Linked DNA regions of Homo sapiens: region 2 is linked to region 1. Evidence: promoter capture Hi-C in human tissues and cell types (Jung and others, 2019). All regions are on one chromosome and are shown on one strand. The core of a region is centred on a gene start or on the middle of the fragment in contact, and the rest is flanking DNA. Distances in the headings are between cores, read along the strand shown. Region 1 holds the start of FBXO4 (F-box protein 4). Region 2 has its middle 4.1 kb from the start of GHR.

What was found. The method cuts DNA at HindIII sites, captures the fragments that hold promoters and counts their contacts. A contact is called where the count stands out against the background at its distance.
Region 2: a contact is called between a fragment that was not itself captured here and the fragment with the promoter of FBXO4 in region 1, in 1 of the 25 tissues and cell types used here (heart left ventricle).

Annotation. Positions count from the first base shown.
Region 1 is chr5:41,923,670-41,926,787 of GRCh38, forward strand. It overlaps FBXO4 (F-box protein 4), which reads left to right and starts at 1,612. Exons shown (of 7, transcript NM_012176.3): 1 at 1,612-1,829. The coding sequence starts at 1,641. RefSeq lists a silencer at 1,870-2,049. The HindIII fragment of the contact is 11,897 bases long and covers 1-3,118 here.
Region 2 is chr5:42,417,731-42,420,848 of GRCh38, forward strand. No RefSeq gene overlaps it. Among named protein-coding and RNA genes, the nearest start is that of GHR, 4.1 kb to the right of the region's middle. The HindIII fragment of the contact is 4,187 bases long and covers 1-3,118 here.

The DNA of each region.
Region 1 (3,118 bases), core at 362-2,861:
CTCCATCTCTACTAACAAAAAAAAAAAAAAAAGAAGAAGAAGAATATAGAAAAAAGAAAGTCCAGAGTGGTCCAGAAAGACCAACCTGCTTTCTTTAACAAATATCAAGGGAAAATAAAGGAGGGGGAGCTATACAATGAAACTTAAGCTTTAAGAGTATCCGTAATGTGTGACCCTTGTTGGGCTATGATTCAAACAAATCAAATGTGAAAAATTATTTTCAAAGCAGATGGGGAAGTTAAACACTGACTCGGTATTTGGTGATTTTAATGAATTAAAATTGCTTAGGTACAGTGGTCTGTTTCTTAAAATCTGTTTTTTTTAGGGACGGATACTGAGATATTTACAGATGATAGGTCTGGGATTTGTTTCAAAAGGATCCAGAATTGGGGGTGTAGTATTAGGTGAGTATAGCAACAGCACAAGATTAACCAGGTGTTGGTAATGGAATCTTGGATACTGGGCACACAGGAGCATATTATTCACTCTCCTTTTATAAATGTTCAAAATTTTCCGTAATAAAGTTTTTCTCATTCATTTAACAGATATCATTTTAATACTTTATACTTGAACTGATTTTTTTTCTTGCTCTAGTTCGTTTTTTGCTCTCAAAGTAAATCGTGTCCTAGAAAGTGATGAGAAATGCCATATGGTTAATCCGTGGTCCTTGTCCAGATTGCCTCCCAAAAACGAGGCTGCAATTTTATTGGTTATTGGCCCCTACCAACAACATGCAAATAATAAAATGTAATGAAACTTAAACTTGTATGTTACAGAGCCTTGCAGAACCTTAGTTATCAGGCTTTCTTGGATTCTGTTGACATTTAGATCCTCAGAGATTTACTTTTTGAATGTATACATACCCAGTTCTATGTAACAGATTAACTTGTAATACGTTCTCTTAAAGCACTTTTAAAGTAAGCCCAAAGTAAGTAGAATGGGCATCTGGTTTGAGAATTAAAAAACTCACTAGTGGGATTTCAACACCACCACATCTGGGTTCTTCTAGCCGTTTTTTGCCGCCCTTGCAAATTTTAAATGTGCTTATATTTTTGCATAGTGGGTCCAGACTTCTCATTTTGGCAAAAGGTTCTTTGTAATTGGCCCGCTGACTGCCTCTCTAGTCTGTTTTTGCTGATACTCAAGAAAATAAATGGTAACTTGGTGATTGAGGAAATAACACACACAAAAAACACCCCATACGTAGTATGGTAGTGCTGAAAAGGAAGCAAGTGGTTATTAAGCCCAAGACAGTGGCAGAGGTCTATCGAACAAGCGGAGTCGCCTAGGACCAGGCATAGTGGAAATGATCCCGGAGAGAACATCTTGAATGAAGCCAGGAAGTCAGCGGGCCAGAGGTTGTACAGGGGCTCTGCGGTTGGCGTGGCTGAGGTTGAGGCCACAAGTTACTGGGGAAGTTAATTGTTGACAGGAGCTTCGTACTCGGCTCACAGCCACGCACAGTGGGCTTCCTCCCAGTACCCGCCCTTGCCCCTGGGCCTAACCCTGCCCTGGAGGCGGACTCGCGGGAGAAGCGGGAGGCGGAACGCCCGAGGGCGCCCTCGGCTGGCGCGGAGCTGCGCAGGAGGCTGACGCGCTAGCGTGGCTCTAAGACGCGTCACCCACGCTGCGGGCAAGCCATGGCGGGAAGCGAGCCGCGCAGCGGAACAAACTCGCCGCCGCCGCCCTTCAGCGACTGGGGCCGCCTGGAGGCGGCCATCCTCAGCGGCTGGAAGACCTTCTGGCAGTCAGTGAGCAAGGAGAGGGTGGCGCGTACGACCTCACGGGAGGAGGTGGATGAGGCGGCCAGCACCCTGACGCGGCTGCCGGTGAGCGTCGGCCGCAGGCCGCGGAGGACAGTGGGGCCGGCCCGGGCCGGAGGGACCTCCCCTGGAGCCCCCCGGGGCCTGGGGAACTCTCGCGCCCCGGCCTGGGTCTGGCTCCGTCCATGCAGCCATTCCTGGCAGTGTAGTCACCGAGAAGCTACAGTTGATCAGAAGCGTCTTGGCGTGGACCCTGGTGCTCCGCAGGGGGCCCGAACATCTCAGGGAAGCACCTTCATGGGGCCCCTGGGGACCCTCCCGATCGCCCTCAGGTTTTCCACCCGCCAAAACAGGCACATGTGACTAGGACACCCTGAATGTCCGGTTACGGAAATGAGACAGTTCCCAACTTGCTGATTAGCTTGGGAAAGCATTCCAGCGTCCCTGTTCCCAGCGTCTTTGATTCCGGATCACTGTACCAAAACACTTGGAGGGCCAAGGTTTTTACCCTCTCAAGAGGACATTGTGCCTGTGGCTGTTATTGTGTATTTGAAGAAACAAAACGGCCCCTCAGTTGAAAATAAATGACTTAAGTTACAAGTGCCTCAAGTTACATCAAGGCCACGAGAATGACACACATAACTTATTGTTAAACTTTGGGGTAGATAGGTAAATGAAGAGAACAAAAATTATTGAAAATTATTACAATTCTTTGTCTCATTTGGACTATTGACACCTCTCTCCAATGTGTATATCAACGTGAAAGCTGCAGGTTTAGAATGCCTCCAAGTTTCTCCTTGCAGAGGTTTTTCATAACATTTTAATAGATTCTGTAGAGGAACTAAGATGACAAATTTACGGCCGGGCGCGGTGGCTCACGCCTGTAATCCCAGCACTTTGGGAGACCCAGGTGGGCGGATCACGAGGTCAGGAGATCAAGACCATCCTGGCTAACACGGTGAAACCCCGTCTCTACTAAAAATATAAAAAATTAGCCGGGCTTGGTGGCAGGCGCCTGTAGTCCCAGCTACTTGGGAGGCTGAGGCAGGAGCATGGCGTGAACCTGGGAGACGGAGCTTGCAGTGAGCCGAGATCTTGCCACTGCACTCCAGCCTGGGCGACAGAGCGAGACTGTGTCTCAAAAAAGAAAAAGACAAATGTACACTCTTTGATTTGGTCTGATGATAAAATCAGATAAAGGTTGATATGGGTTTTATTTTGAAGGACAAATTATTTCCTTAACTAATTTATGTAACTAACTGGTATATCCAAATATCTCTGAGGAAAAATTAAAGGAACTGGTGATTTTGCTGGAAAAATAGCAAGACAGTGGTTGCTTTTTCAGGAATGTTTCA
Region 2 (3,118 bases), core at 297-2,796, 490 kb after region 1:
GGGTATCACCAGCAGAGGCTGCAGAACAGCAAATATTGCTGCCTGATCCTTCCTCTGGAAGCTTCATCCCAGAGGGGCACCTGCCTGTATGAGGTGTCTGTCAGCCCCTACTGGGAGGTGTCTCCCAGTTAGGCTACACGGGGGTCAGGGACCCACTTGAGGAGGCAGTCTGTCCTTTCTCAGAGTTCAAACACCATGCTGGGAGAACCACTGCTCTCTTCAGAGCTGTCAGACAGGGCCATTTAAGTCTGCAGAAGTTTCTGCTGCCTTTTGTTCAGCTATGCCCTGCCCCCAGAGTTGGAGTCTACAGAGGCAAGCAGGCCTCGTTGAGCTGCGGTGGGCTCCACCCAGTTCAAGCTTCCCAGCCACTTTCTTTACCTACTCAAGCCTCAGCAATGGCTGACGTCTCTCCTCCAGCCAGGCTACCACCTCGTAGTTTGATGTTGGACTGCTGCACTAGCAGTGAGCAAGGCTCTGTGGGTGTGGGACCTGCTGAGCCAGGCACAGGAAGGAACTTCCTCGTCTGCTGGTTGTGAAAACTGAGGGAAAAGTGAAGTATTTGGGCAGAAGTGTACCATTCCTCCAGGTACAGACTGTCACTGCTTCCCTTGGCTAAGAAAGGGAAATTCCCCAACCCCTTGCTCTTCCCGGGTGAAGCGACGCCCCACCCTGCTTCAGCTTATTCTCTCTGGGCTGCACCCACTGTCCAACCAGTCCCAATGAGATGAACCAGGTACCTCAGTTGGAAATGCAGAAATCACCCGTCTTCTGCATCAGTCACGCTGGGAGCTGCTGATGAGAGCTGTTCCTATTTGGCCATCTTAGGTTGTTTTCCAATAAATGGCAATTTTAAGCTTTCACCTGGCTCTGGGACCTCCTCATAAATTTTGGCTAAGAATACCCAGATCATGAAATAACATTTTCCCTGTTACCTTCCAATATAGGGGGAAAGCAATAAATACTTCCCTAAGTCATTTTTTTCTCTTCATGATTCCCTTGCCATCCTCACCCAAGGCAGTTGTGGGATGGAACTAGGGGACTAAGATAAAGAGAGTACCCTAGTCAAAGAGCTCTCACAGTGTGCTCACAAGCATCACATGCTCAATTCCATGATATGCTGAGTCCTGGGCAAGGAAGGAATTCTCAGCACTCTTGTACCTGCTACCTGACATTCTTGAGCCTCTTACCCTGCTATGGTTTTCTTTAATCAGCACTTCAGTGATTTACTTATTATGTTTATTGTTCATTGTCTCTCCTAACTAGAATGCAAGCCCCATGAGGGCAGCATCTTTGTAGATATGTGGTATAAATTTTGTTCCCTGATGCATGCTAAGTTTTTAGAACGAAGTCTGTCATAGTGTAGGCTCACCAACATTTGTATGAATGAAAGAACATGGTGAATGGGAATTCAGTGTTAGTTTAAAAAAAATTCATTAAAGGGATAATATTTTATTAGAATCTTATTAATTTTACCAGTAAATATTGTATTAATCAGGGAGATATATATATATATATATGTCATATTCATGAGATATATATATATATATATATGTCATATTCATGAGATATATATACAGAGACTTATTTTGAGAAATTTGCTCACATAATTGTGAAAACTGAAAAGTCAAAAATCTACAGGGTAAATTGGTTACAGATTTAGGGAATAGTTGATATGCAGTTTGAATCCAAAGGCTGCCTGCTGACAGAATTTTCTCTTCTTTGGGATAGGTCAGTTTTTTTCTCTTAATGCCTTCAACTGATCGATTGAGGCCCACCTACATTATGTAGAGCAATATGATTTACTCAAAGTCTATTGATTTAAATGTTAATCTTACCATAAAAATGCCTTTGCCAAAAAAATCTAAAATAATATTTGACCAAATATCTGGGTACCATGGTCTAGCAAAATTGACACATAAAATTAACCATCTCAATGTGTCAACTTTGCTAGGGCATGGTACCCGGACATTTGGTCAAATATTATTCAAATAAATTTAGAATTTATCACAAATGTTTGATATCATAATTTGATTTACAAATATCAATCTAATACTTTATTTTACAGCTGAATGATCTCAGAGAGCAACCCCTTCCTTCTATAGGCCAAGAAATGGAGTCATTGTGAGATTAGTAACTAATTTACCCAAAATCACAGAGGACCCACACAGGATCCCAAGGCTCCTGACTAACAATCCTATGTTCTTCAACTACAAATGCTATAAAACAAAACAGCTATAAAATGCTACTTTAAGTGTTTTGGCCTCTTTTGTTTTGTTTTGAGAAGAAGCTTTGGCATTTTATAGTACAACAGAGTGACTAAAGCCATGCTCTAACCTCAGATAACTGTAGATTTAGGAAGTTTATACTGTGGTGTTTTATGGTTTGGGGAGATGGCGATCTGACCTAGATATCTGCACTTGAATATATATAATCAGAATTATTTTCTAATTGTTTCTATTGTCTTCAAGGCAGTTTATATTTTTTGCTAAGCCCTACTGGGGATGTATAAAAGACTGGGGAAGGGTGGGCCATAATAAGGTAAGGCCATAATAAGGTAAAATAGGTTGGACAAGATAAGTTAGCCAATATCTGAGTAAAGACTTCAAGGAACTGTAGGAGGAAGCAAATGAATATTTGTGGAAGTGTGTTTAAATCAGAGAGAAAAGCCAGCAAAAAGCCTTCAAGTTAGGAGTCTGCCTGGCCTGCTTAAGAAACAGCAGGGAGGCCGGTGTGCTGGGAGCAGAATGGATGACCCAGTGATGGGGAAATTCATGGGAGATGAGGTGTGGGGCAAAGGTACATAGCTCACGTAGGGTCTCATGGGCCATTTTGAATTTTATTCTGATTTGAATGGGGAACCATTGGAGGGTTTTGAGCTGAGGAATGACATGATATTAATTTTAAAAGGAATGACTATGGCAACTGAATTTATACTTTGGGTTGTTGTTGGTGTTGGTTGGGGATTAGGGGTGGGGTTTGTCAAAGCAAGCAGACCAGTTGAGTTGAGAGACTACTGCAGTAATCTGAGAAATTCTGGTGGTTCAGACCAGGTGTCTCTGGACCTCTCCAAGAAAATAGACAGAGTTTTGAATGTGGAATGTGATTGGCAGAGAAGAAG